Regions from separate parts of the Homo sapiens genome. Here region 2 is linked to region 1. Evidence: promoter capture Hi-C in 16 types of primary human blood cells and fetal thymus (Javierre and others, 2016). All regions are on one chromosome and are shown on one strand. The core of a region is centred on a gene start or on the middle of the fragment in contact, and the rest is flanking DNA. Distances in the headings are between cores, read along the strand shown.

Region 1 (6,796 bases), core at 3,181-5,680:
GTACTCACCATGCATCAGGCACCGTTCTCAGTGCTGGGAAATGCTGTTGTGAACAGAACCACACACAAATCCCTGCCCTCCTGGGGCTTTTGCTCTAGTGAGGGGAGGCAGATAATACACACTCAGTTAATAACCATAGATCAGGTGGGACAAGAAGAAAACTACAGCAGGGTGAGGGGGTAAGGGTGAAGGGAATGAGGGGGAGCAAAGGTGGACAGAGTGGTCGGGGAAGGTCTCTGTGAGGATGTGACCTCCCTCACTGCCTTCAGAAGGAAGGTAGAGAGGGACCACATGGGTTTCTGGGGAAGAACCTTCCAGGCCAGGTGAGGGAGGAGAAAGGGCAAAGTTATGACCCCTCCTCCCACCAGTGTCTCCTTCCCCTAAGCTCTCTCCATCCTACCCTGGCCACAATCCCTCTCTCATTCTCTCTCTCTGTTTTCTCTCTCACGCCCGCTCCCTTGCTGCTCACCTCTTCCCTTATTCTGATTGCACAGGGAATCCAGGCTTTCGGAGATGAGGACTGGGAGGTCTCCAGACCACACAAGCCCCCTATTTGCACTGGCCTTTGGAATGAGCCTACAGCCTGCCTCCACTCCTCCTGGTACCCCAGCTGTTCTCAAGGAATTGGCCAGAAGTCAGACTCCTTTCCCAGCTGTCCTCCACTTCTTTCCTGCCAGGCACCCTAGGCCCCATGGTGGGATTGGGCCTATAGGCTGTGATTTTCCACATCCTTGTCAAACCTGTACTACCTGAATGCCTAGAGGAAAAGATACTGCCTTAATTACTATTATGAGCACGAATGCCTTCTTACTCTTGAATTTAGCTGAGTGCTGCCTGCAGGTAAAGTCACCTGGAGAACCATCCAGGGACTTTGTCCTCATAGGATCACTTGTACCTCTCTAGGGTTGCTGTGGCAGCTGCCAGAGTGGCCCGGGCCATGGATGAGGGCCAGGATATGGAAAGCAGAGGCAGAAATGAGCCCAGAGGCCACAGGGCCCAGCTCTCAGGCTCCCACGGTGAAGCCCAGAGGGTTCCTTCTCTCTCCTGCTTCAGGCTGACAATGTTTGTCAGCCTCTGCTCCCAACCCCTATACCCAGCAACCTCTGCGCCCAAGCACATGGTCTGAAGAATATTCTGGTGTTGGGCCCCTGTAGGTGGCCTGCCGTGACGGTGGAAGCCTGGAACGTAGTGACATGGATTCATCATTGGGATGTTTCATCCTAAGGAAACGCACTCGCAGGTGGCTGTAGACCTTGGGGACTCCAGCCTCGTTCATTTAAGCTCCCACAATGTTCCAGGCCCTATGCGGCTTGCAAGGGGCAGAGAGACACAGAATGACAGCCGACATGGCACTCTATTGGTGCACTGGCACTGTTTTTTTTTTTGAGATGGAGTCTTGCTCTGTCACCCAGGCTGGAGTGCAGTGGCATGATGGAGATGCAACCTCTACCTCATGGGTTCAAGCGATTCTCCTGCCTCAGCCTCCCGAGTAGCTGGGACTACAGGTGCCCACCACCATGCCCGGCTAATTTTTTTGTATTTTTAGTAGAGACAGGGTTTCACCATGTTAGCCAGAAAGGTCTCGATCTTCTGACCTCGTGATCCACCCAAACTGCTGGGATTACAGGCGTGAGCCACAGAGCCTGGCATGCTGGCACTGTTCTCTGTGCCCTACCTGTATTTCCTCATTTCCTCCTCAACGAGCTCCAGGGGGAGGTATCACAGCCAAGAAATGGAGGCCTGGGGATGTTAAATGCCATGGCCCAGGCAGCATCCGTCCTCATGAAGCCACCTTATCAGGTAGGGAGGCAGACAGGTGGCCCTCATCATTTACCTTCCAGTGTGGCAACTGAGGCAGTGTATGCGTTAGTCATGATTAAGACCCTGCCCCTTCCCAGAGGGAGATGGCAAGTGCTGTCACACAAGGTCTGTCAGATGTTGAGCAAGGCTGCCCAGTAACCTTTGGCCCGTGTCTGAAAGAAGGCACAGGAATCTGTCTCCTGGTCCAGATGGAGAACATTCCCAGCAAATCTGGAGAGGCAGACTGGAGTTGGGAGAACAGGAGGGTGTCAGGAGAGAGGAAACATCTCCTGTGGAGATTTCTTCTCCTTCCCTTCCTGCTCCCTCTTGGTGGGAGCTAAGGGCCAGGGCACTAAAGGGTCCCCTGTTGAAACTCTAACGTTCTAGTTCCCCTTTCCCTGGGCTGTTCACAGTGTCCAGGGCCTGTCAGCTCAACTTCCATCACCTTGGCAGTCCCTGAGGCACCTGAAAGTGATACTGGTCACATCAGAACACATCTCCTTATCTTTCCTCCTCACCTCTCTTAAATGTCTGTGATTCAGCCTCCTCATTGGTAAACTGAGGTCCACAGTGTGTGTTCTTCATCAACTCCGGTGGTGGGGGAGTTGTGGTGGGGATAAGAACCTGCGTGTGACTGCTCTTGGAAAGTTGGAGTAAGGGCACCCAGAAGGAATGACGACGACCCCTCAGTGCCTCCTTGTGACTGCGGGCGGGCTACGGAACCTTCCAGACTGACCGCTTCACTCTCAAATGCAGGACCCAGAATCCAACACTGCCACCACCACAGCTATTTCCCTGGCAGTATTCTCAACACTGCAGTCACAGTGATAGTCCAAAGTGTAGGTCTGATCATGCCACTCTTCCGTGAAAAGCCCTGCAGGGCTGCTCCATGTCACCAGAGTAAAAGTCAAAGTTTTTTTTTTTTTTTTTGAGACGGAGTCTCTCTCTGTTGCCCAGGCTGGAGTGCAGTGCTGCCATCTCAGCTCACTGCAAACTCCGCCTCCCGGGTTCACACCATTCTCCTGCCTCAGCCTCCCCAGCAGCTGGGACTACAGGCGCCTGCCACCACGCCCGGCTAATTTTTAAAAATATTTTTAGTAGAGACGGGTTTCACCATGTTAGCTAGGACGGTCTCGATCTTCTGACCTCGTGATCCGCCCACCTCGGCCTCCCAAAGTGCTGGGATTACAGGCGTGAGCCACCGTGCCCAGCCAAAAGCCAAGGTCTTATAATGGCCCACCAGGCACTACACAGAACTCCCCCCAACCTCTCAGAGTTCATCTCCTGCCTCGGCCCCTCTCCTTCGCTCCACCCAGCCCCTCTGGCCTCTGCCATTTCTCCATCCCACCCAGTGTGCTCTAACCCCAGAGCCTTCGCACTTGTGGTGTTCTCTGCCTGGGATACTCCTCCCCCAGAGATATCCTCATGGCTCCCCCTTAGTTTCTTCAAGTCTAATGCCACCTCCGTGAGGCCATCCCTGACTGCTCCATTTTAAATGGCAACACTTGCTCAGGCTGAAGTGCGTTCACTGCTCACTGCAGCCTCCACCTTCTGGGCTCAAGCAATCATCCTGCCTCAGCCTCCTGAGTAGCTGGGATTACAGGCATGAGCCACCCGCCTGTCCCAACTCTTTATGTTCCTCACTGAACCCTTCCCTGTTTCTTCAAATAGCCATTTTTACAGTCTAGTTTACTATTTTATTTTGCTTATTTTTCCCCCAAACTGGAATGTAAGCTCTCTCAAGCCAGGAATTTTGTTTTTTTAGCTCACAATTCTATCTCTGGCACCTAAAGCAGCGCCCAGCACATAGTAGGTGATCACTAGACAGTTGATTCACTGAGAGAACACAGAGGGACACCTCCCTAGGTCTCAGTCTAGGTGGCCAAGACAGGAGGCCCCACCAGTGACTGTGCCTTCCCCTCAGGGGGTCCGAGAGCTGGCGTGTGAGAGTGGCAGCCCCTGCCTGGCTCCGCTCAGCCATCTAGGGCACCCCTGGCAGGTGCTGTGCCTTGCCTGGGATGGAGGAGTCTCCGTCCACCTCTGGCTGGGTAGGGGCTAAGGCTGCGGGGCAGAGGGGCATCTGCTAAGGGGCACAGGCCAACCGGGCCCCAGGGAACCGCTGGCCACCTGAGATGGCAGGACAAACTCGGGCAGGCCTCCCCCCACCCCTCACACCTGGCTCACTGGTCCCACCGGGCGGTGACCTTCCCCAGGGTCACTGCCCTTTCTTGGCCCTACTCCTGGGGATCCAACCCGCTCCCAGGCTGTCGCTAGCTCCCTCCCGATCCTCTCCCTCCCCTTCATCCTGCCCAGACCCCTACCCCACCAGACCCCTCACCCGCCCTTGGTCAGATCTCTCTCCTACCCCGCTCCCCCACCCCCATCCCCACTTCCCCTCGGTCTTCACCCCGCCCCAGACACCCCCAGTCCCTCTCCCTGTCCTCCATGCCCACCCCGCCTTTCCTCCCTCGGGCCCCTGTCTCCCGCCCTAGCCCCCGCCCCTGCCCCAGCCCTGGCTCCGGCCCCGGTCAGTGCTGCGGCTCCGGCCCTGGCCGGCAGGGGCCGCTCCTCGCGGCGCCCGGGGCCCCGCCGCGCCCGCCGCCGCCGCCCGCCTCCCCGCCCCTTCCCCAGCCGGCGCTCCCGTTACGCCGCGGAGCCGGGAGCCGGAGCCCGAGCCCGCGGCGGCGGCGGGAGGCGGCGAGGGGGCGCCGCGGCGGCGGCGGTGGGGCCTGCGGGGCGGGCGGCCGGGCCCGGCCAGGCCGCGATGGCGACCAAGAAGGCAGGCTCGCGGCTGGAGACGGAGATCGAGCGCTGCCGCTCCGAGTGCCAGTGGGAGCGGATCCCTGAGCTCGTCAAGCAGCTGTCGGCCAAGCTCATCGCCAACGGTACGCTCCGGGCGCGCCGGCCTGGGCTGCGGGGGGCGCCGCGGCCTCCGCGGGAACGGGCCCCCGAGGCGCGGCCGGGCGCGGGGCGCGGGCAGGGGCGCGGCCGGGCCGCGAGGGAGCTGCGGCCCAGGGGATGTGCGCGGGACCGGGGCCTGGGGGAGCCCGGGTGCCCCGGAGTCACGCGGTGTGGGGGCCCGGGGGGGCGCCAGGGGCTGTCCCGGCGCCTGGGGTTCAAGCGTGCAGGGCGGGCTTCTGCGGAGTCTGGGGTGTCCGGGGGTCTCAGCGAGTCCGCTGCTCCACTGGGACCACAGGAGGTCAGGGGCCGGCCTGGGGCTTCCAAGAAGTTGGAGGTGATGGGGTGAGGGGGTCCCTCAGGACATGGGTGAAGTCCACAGTGTGTGTATGGTGTGCTCAGGGAATCAGGATGTGTTTATGGGGTCTTGAGAATGGGGTGTTGTACATAGACCCCTGGGGAATCTGGTTTGTAAACATATGGTGTTTAAGGGGTTCTGGGTGGAAGCGCAGACTCGAGGTGTGTGGGGTGGTGGTAGAAAGCAGGCTGGGATGTGCGTCCTGGCGTTCGGAGAAGTAGCATCAAGGCTGCCGACCTAGAGAGGTCAGGGTTGGGAATAGAGGAGAAATAGAGTCAGGGGGACCTGGAGGGAGAATATTGTGGAGCGAGATGGGAATGTGGTTGAAGAATGTCGGGAGATGGAGTTGGGTGGGTGAGGGGTTGGTGCCTGGGCCAGAAGGGGGTCTGAGGCAGCCTCTGAGTAGGAGCCTGGTGCCTGGAGTTGGTTCATGACCCCTTTAACTGGATTGGTTCTTGTACCCAATCAAATAAAATTGCATCCAGAATCCCATTCCAGTGCACAGCTCCACGTGGCCTTATTTGTTTTGGAAGCGAGTATCTTTAATATTTGCTTGTCTTTTAGTACCCGCCTAAAGCGCAGGCACCAGCACACCGTGGCCAGAGGGCAGAGGGTTTGTCTCATTTCATCCTGGGCTTCCCCAGGCCCAGTGAGCACATGTTGGCTGAACAAATGAATGAAAGAGTGAATGAATGGATGGCGGGGCTGCTCTAAGAAAGGACATCTGCACTATTTTCAACCTTCTCACTTCAGACTACCCAGAAAGGAGAGGGATGTCAGGTGTCCTCCTGGAGGGTGGTTTATGTTTGTGTCCTATGGTATTAGTGCCTGGAAATTAGAACTTGGTTTTGCGCACTCTCAATGATGGATGCATGCTGTGGGCAGGTACCTTCTGGGTGAACGCAGGTGCCATGGTGTGTCAGGGGCATGGAGATAGCACCGACCCTACACGGGCTCCACTTGGTGGAAAATGTGGACCCTTCTCAGTTATGTCAGCCTTTGAGGAGATGGTGTTCAGTGCCCTGGGCCCCAGAGGCAGCTTGCCTTTGCCCTCCGTGTCGGGCTCACCTGCTTCTCCGCTTACCTGCAGCATTTTCTCTTTTCCTCTCGGAGTTGCACAGTCCTGGGTCTACTTTGTGGCTTCCCAGCGGTGTAGGCATAATGACACCTTCTGTGCAGGTTGATTTTAGGATTAAATGGGTTTATTTGTGAGCCTCCTGGTCTTTTTTCTTCTGAATCCACTTGTTTCCTGCTGTCTTTGCTTATTCATTCACCCAATATTTGCGTGCCCACCTGTGCCAGTCACAGAACAGTGGTGAACAGCACTGACCAAGCCCCTGCCCTTATGCCCTCACCCTGCTCTCAGGAGGCAGGTGATAAGCAAATATGGAAATAAATAAACAGCACAGCTTCAGATAGTGAGAAGTGATTGAAACAAAACAGATGAGTTAATGTGATTGAGAATGACAGGCAGATGAAGGGGGACTCAAGCTATGATGGTCCCTGGAATGAGAGGGTAGATGGGTTTTTGGTGGCCTGGGCCCTTCCTATTCACCTTCATGGCCCCCGAAAGGCTTAGCTCTCTTCCCAGGGGCTGCTCCCAATGTCCTAAGATGCAGTCATGAGTGGGGCTTGGGGATCGGGGTTTGCGGGGGCACTGTGGTCCATGGGTCTGTGTGCAAGTTCAGTTTGGGGAAACTCATGGGACATAGATTTTTGTCCTAGAGACTCACATGGTGA
Region 2 (6,610 bases), core at 326-2,825, 470 kb before region 1:
CTGGACACCCATGTTCCTATTTTGGAGAGGATGCTTGGGCAGCACACTTGGCCCAGCCCCCATGGTCTTCAAATGTGGGAACCTTTTGACCTTATGCAGATTTTTCTGGATTCACAGAACCTCAGGGTGGCTTCATGGACATGTCTCTTCCCCAGAGAGCAGCAGCTCTCCCCAAGTGGGGCTGGCCCACCCTAGCAGTGCTGCCCCTTGTCCACGGCCTGAGCCCCAGGAATTGTCCCTTCGGATTGTCCTGGCCCAGCCTTGAAGTCAAAATCACTGCAAATCCCTTGAGGTCTCTCTGGGAATCCAGAACCACAGAATTTCCGAACCTCAGTCTGTTTTTGGTTTTTGTGTGTGTGCTTATTGTTTTGTTTTGTTTTGTTTTGTTTTGAGACGGAGTCTCGCTGTGACATCCAGGTTGGAGTGCAATGGCACAGTCTCAGCTCACTGCAACCTCCGCTTCCCAGGTTGAAGCCATCCTCCTGCCTCACCCTCCCGAGTAGCTGGGATTACAGGCATGTGCCACCACGCCCAGCTAATTTTTGTATTTTTAGTAGAGATGGGGTTTCACCATGTTGGCCAGGCTGGTCTCGAACTCCTGACCTCAAGTTGATCCACCCACCTCGGCCTCCCAAAGTGCTGGGGTTACAGGCGTGAGCCACCATGCCTGGCCCAGAACCTCAGTCTGAATCTTCTGTTTGACACAGAAATTGAAGCCAAGATGAGAAACTGGAGTGATAATATAAATAGATGCTGTTTCGTTTCAGAGACGGGGTGAGAGCACAGGCAGGGTTCTCTTCATGTCACACCAGGATGCCCTCGGTGTCCAGCTCGCTGTGATGTTATTGCTTACTCTTTAAATGCACTGATTTTTAATCAAACAGCCTGCTCTCCTCTGCCCTCTCCACCTCACCCAGATTACTCAGTGCCAGGGAGGAGTCAAGGGAATGCCAGCTTATTTCACTGATTATTAACTTTAGCAGAAAATGAGATTCATGGAAATGGCTTTTTGACAGAAAAATTGCCAACTAAATTAAGCACGGCATCACTTCCTTCATCCTGGGAGACTAGAGTGGATTTCTGTCACAATGCACATGGCTCTACCATCCCCAGCCCTGTGCCAAACTGAGAATTAAGTTCTAGCTCCTGAGCCCCAAATATGATTACCATGGTCATGAGCGTCATTGTCCTGAACCCCACGTGAGTGGCCTAGCTTCCCAGACTGGGGAAGAACATCCCAGCCCATGTTAGGGAACCAGGGACCCACTGGGGGTGTGTGGGAGGGCTGGCTATGTCCTAAACATCTACTTCTAACCAGGAAGAACCACTGGATTGGAGCCAAAGCCTTAGTCAAACTCATCAAACCAAAGAAAGAGGGTTCGAGGGAACGCTTAAAATCCACCGTGGACAGCCCTCCCTGGCAGCTGGAGTCCTCAGACCCCGCCTCGCCGGCGGCCTCTCAGCCGCTCAGATCACAGGCCGAGAACCCCGACACCCCCGCACTGGGCTCCAACTGTGCAGAAGAGCGCGACGCCCACAACGGGTCTGTGGGGAAAGGTAGGGGCGGCCGTCCTGGCCGTGGTCGGGTGAGGAAGGGGGTGTCCTGAAGGGTCCCGCACCGGTGGCTGTGCACACGTGTGCAGGAACGTGCCAGGGGTGGGTGACTGCATGTGCGCCTTCGCTTAGATGTGTTACGAGCCAAGTAGAAATTCAGCGTGGCGACCGTTTTGTCCCATAATGCTTTTGTTACTTTATTTTATATTTTATTTTAATTTTTTTGAGATGGAGTTTCACTCTTGTTGCCCAGGCTAGAGTGCAGCCTGGCTGCCTCCCAGGTTCAAGTGATTCTCCTGCCTCAGCCTCCTACGTAGCTGGGATTATAGGCGCCCACCACCACGCCTGGCTAATTTTTTGTATTTTTAGTAGAGACGGGGTTTCACCATGTTGGCCAGGCTGGTCTCGAACTCCTAACGTCAAGTGATCCACCCGCCTCAGCCTCCCAAACTGTTGGATTACAGGCGTGAGCTGCCACGCCCAACCACTTTTGTTGTTTTAGAACAAAAGGTATCATTCATCATGTAGCCGGGCAGATATCTCAATATCCAAAGCTGACATTCGTGCAGGTACCATAGAGACAAGCGACATAGCTTATTTTGGGCTGCCTCGTATGTGCCAGATTTGTAGAAAGCTGCTTTGTGCAGGGAGATCCCAGGTGCACTCAACACGTTCTCCATGTATATAAGACCTCCCGAAAGCCTTGGGTGGTTTATCTGTTACCACTTTGAAAGGTGGGTTAGGACTTCTTCAGCCTGATCTGGCCTTGTGTCCCACCAGCCACAGGACACACTGTGCCTTTTCCCTAAGGGCTGTCCTTTGGAGTTTGCCAGAGGTTCTGAAACAAGAACAGGATTTCTCATCATGTATGCTGTATTTCATCAACTCTCAGGAGCCATGAAAGCTGCACAGTTACTTTATATACCACGAGGCAATCAAACGGTACAGGGCCACCACTTCGAATTTTTCTTACGCTCTTGTTGAAAGAGCTTTTCTAAATAAGAATTCGATTTTTGTACACACACGTAAAAGGAAAATAGGACCAAGATGAGTTGGTTATGACCATGTCAGTTTTGTCACCGTGGCCACCTGGCCAGTGGTGACTGAGACATCACTGAAATTGCCTCCTAATTTCCAAGACGTTAAAGGTGTCTTAGAATCGATTAGACACAGCATTTACCTTACACATTGTTAAATTTTCAGCTTTACCTTTAAATATCATTTTGGGGAGATTATTTATCCCAGGCCTGCATCCCAAGTCATTTAAATTTTTACAAAGGACACTAGGACTTTCTGAAGACCCAGCCTATGCCTGAGACCCATGGGGTCTTGGAGGCGGAGGATATAACACTGAAGACCAGCGACAGGCTACCCTCTGAGTGTGGTGTGTGCACAAGCCTTTCAGGGGGCACATTCACAAGTACCTGTTGTGTCCCCTTCAGATGCAAAAAAAAAAAAAAAAAAAAAAAAAGACCTGGTGCAGTGGCTCATGCCTATAATCCCAGCACTTTGAGGGGCCAAGACAGGAGGATCACTTGAGGCCAGGAGTTTGGGACTAGCCTGGGCAACACAGGGAAACCCCCATCTACCAATATATATATTTTTATTTAGCCAGGTGTGGTGGCACGTACCTGTAGTCTCAGCTGCTCAGTCGACTTGAGCCCAGGAGGTCGTGGCTGCAGCGAGCTATGGTCATACCACTGTACTCCAGCCTGGGTGACAGAGTGACACCCCATCTCTAACAAAAATAATGTTCACGCACATTGTTCAGGGACTAACACACTGTCATTCTTTATGGGGATAAGATTAGATAGAGTCAGCACCGTAAGACAGGGTGAGAAGGAAAAAAATTAGAGGCCTCACATGCAAGTAAATGAGAAGCTTAACTTTTTTTAAGCTAGAGGGGTTCTGTTGCCTCAGGTTTTTATATTGGCTCCTGTTTAATTTTTGGACATTTGTCATCTCAACTTGTATTACTCTTTAAGTGGAATTAATTAACTATAATCAGTCTGAGTTAGGAAAACTTTCAGAGAAAAAAATGCTTGACTGGTCCAAAGTGATCCGTGAGCAAGCAGGTCTGTAAACCATGATCATGTTCACTAGCAGCCACCATGTCTTGGGTGCTCCCTCTGGGCCCAGCACCCTCTAACTACTTTATGTGCTTTATGCATCTCATTGAATCCTAACGACCCTATCAAGGCAGGTGGACGTGGCCTCCCCTGTGTAGAGGTGAGAAAGTGAGGCTCAGCAGTGTAAAACATTTGCTTTGGGTAAGTGGGACCCAAATGCAGGTCGGCCGCACTCCGGAGCCTGAGCTCTTAACTGCATGCACTTAACTGCATGGACTGCCTCCAGTTAAAGCTCTCTGGGTCCCTGAAGATGCCGAACAAGAGCCTAGCCCTGAACTGGCCACAAGGACACCAGCCTTGAATAAGTTGGTCCCTTATTCTGTGGTGTGAGCCACTGTGGCCACCAGGTGGTGCTGTGGAGGAAGAAATAATGGAAATCCTGGTATCAACTTTAATCCTACATCAGAAATTGGTTAGGTCGATTAATGTTACTATAAGACAGTTTAGGAAGTTAGCCCAATTGTCTGCTTTGTTAAGACACTAGAGGCTAAGGAGTGGAGGATTGGAGTGGAGGATGTATATAGAAGATCTAAAAGGAAATCATGATTCTTGGTGTTGAAGGGTTTTTTTTAGTATGCAAAGGAGGTATTTAAATTATTTTAAAACTCATCCTGCCGAAAGATTATTTTAGAGATACAGAATCATTAGTGAATACTTCAGGTAGAGTATTTGATTACAGCGCCCTGAAACGGATCATTGAATGTTCCCAAGGTCTTTGAGTGGGAACGGGAGGATTGTGTGAGCTGAGCTGTTAGGGACCCCATCATTAAAATGGATGAGTAAGAGAAGTTGGGCCCTAAATTAATAAGCATTAGTGTTTAATAATTTGGCACACTGAAACCGAAAAATCATCCAGACCATTGGCTCCTTGGGCAGTATGTAATTCTCCTCACACGCTGAGGAAATAAATTGTTGGCGTTCAGGTGCCTTTAAATTAATTGAGTCAGAGCACAGATGATTACTGAGCCCTGATTCTGTTCTTGAGTACTGTGTACTGTTTTCATCTTTCCTGGGCAAGACGGGATTCTGATTTCTTAAGTACATTTAGCTAATTTCGATTCATTTGTCATTATTGTTCATTTCATTTATTTGTGTTTTCTTTTTCCTTCCTCCTTTGGGTTATCCGATTGATAACAATTTAGCACCTCCGCGCAAAAAGAGTCCCTTTTTGAAAAGCAAAAACAAGGACAAAGACAAGTCTCCAACGACCCACCCAGCTCTCTCTAAACGCCTGCGGTTCTGGTCTTCCTCCGACATCCCATCCTCTCCTAACGAGCCTCTCTCTTTCTCCGACATTGGAGATTTCTAATCCCTTTCCTTTATCATGTGTCTGTATTGTGTACCCTCCTTCATTTCCGAAATTCAAACAAACAAAAAAAGCCAGCGTCTAAAAGGCCAGATGGCCGATAGCGGACCCCTCCTCCTGCCCCCAATTTCAAGCTTAAAGTAGCCAGCGTGGATTCTGATTTCAAAATAGAAGATGAGTTGTCACACTCCCTGGACCATTTCTTCAGCACAACACAGTTTTAGGGGGAGCCTCAGGATATACGTGCACATGTCCTTGGGCCAGGATGTCCGTACTAAGTAAGTCGAGTGGCCGTGCCCCCCTCCCGTCTCTTGCACCTGCGAGCTTATGTTTTGCCCGTGTGTCAAGCAGCACTGGCGGGTGGTTGCTGCACTTCCTAAAATGTACAGCCTCTGTCAAGTGAGGGTTTTTTTTAAGACTTATTTTTAAGCAGCTAAATTTAAAACTGCTGCCCTTTTCTCCTCTTCCTTTGTCAGAGCACTGAGTTGTGGGCCTTTTCCGGTAAGGCCCTTATAAAATGTGTTCTGTTTTGAAGGATTGATTGCTCCATTCAGGCATTTTGACTAATTGGATTGATTTTGCCCAGACAGAGTTCAGCCCAGAGTGAAGTTTTATGACTGTGCTGTGGTTTTATGACATCTTGGATGCTGAAGTTAAAACAGCAGGAGACAGAAAGAACATCAGCACACAAATCATGCCTCGAGCAAGGGAAAATGCCAGCCGGCCAGCTAGGCCATTACCTATGGAGCATTTCCTGTCTCTAGCCATCCCTGTACCACCTCCGTTATTTTTGTCATATCCTGATACCGTCTATGATTACCTACAAAAATATGATTACCTGCATGTTTTCCCTTACATTGATTCACAGTTTGTAGTTAAATGTATTAAAAGGAAAGATTAGTATCAGTCCTGTAAGTGGAAAACACACATATCATCATAAAAACAAGGTAATCATAAGAATAAACACATAATTACTAAAATATGAGAGTCGGTTAATGTGCCACTGACTTCATCTCATGAGCCTCGCTCTGGGAACCCTGGGCTGCCGTGGTGCCGGGTCCTCCAGACCTGCCTTCCGCGCATGCTGTTGGAATTGTGCTTTCTCTGTTCGCTGCTCATGCTAACTGTTCACTCATCTCTGCCTCCCCTGTGGATCCTCATTTTAGCTTCACCTGTAGGATGACCTGTCCCGATTCATTCCACCTGTCCCGATTCAGGCAGACTTGAATCTTGCTTCTCATCAAGGTTATCTTTCAAAATCCAAATTTCCCCTTGATTTCAAATCATCAGCTCTGGGCACTTAAAACTGCACAGTGAGCCCAGACTTTGAGTGGCTGGGAGGGCAGACGGCTTGATGGGTGGAGAAGCCGAACTGCAACAGTGAGTCCTGGCTCTGCACACGGAGTGGGACGCTCTGCAAAGTGCTTTGTCAGCTCTTAGGAATGCCAGCCATGTTCATTTTTATCTTGTGTTGGGAGAGCCTGTCCTCTTTCCTGTGGGGTACTTGGTTTTATGGGCTGTTTTTCTTTTATGATTTTATATGTTTTTATTTAATTTTGACCAGAGTTTATGTTCATGGTAGAAAAGTTAGAGATTTCAGAAAAGCACAAGACACAAGGTA

Evidence for each region. Contacts are between HindIII fragments. The CHiCAGO score rates a contact against its expected background, and 5 or more counts as called.
Region 2: a fragment that was not itself captured here is called in contact with the fragment with the promoter of TTC7B in region 1 in 1 of 17 cell types (megakaryocytes); the score reaches 5.3 in megakaryocytes.

What each region holds. Positions count from the first base shown.
Region 1 is chr14:90,814,064-90,820,859 of GRCh38, reverse strand. It overlaps TTC7B (tetratricopeptide repeat domain 7B), which reads left to right and starts at 4,430. Exons shown (of 20, transcript NM_001010854.2): 1 at 4,430-4,685. The coding sequence starts at 4,565. It overlaps LINC02321 (long intergenic non-protein coding RNA 2321), which reads left to right. Exons shown (of 4, transcript NR_184259.1): 4 at 495-787. RefSeq lists a silencer at 4,257-4,436. The HindIII fragment of the contact is 10,969 bases long and covers 1-6,796 here.
Region 2 is chr14:91,284,052-91,290,661 of GRCh38, reverse strand. It overlaps CCDC88C (coiled-coil domain containing 88C), which reads left to right. Exons shown (of 30, transcript NM_001080414.4): 25 at 1,319-1,557. Among named protein-coding and RNA genes, the nearest start is that of GPR68, 43 kb to the right of the region's middle. The HindIII fragment of the contact is 3,724 bases long and covers 1-3,437 here.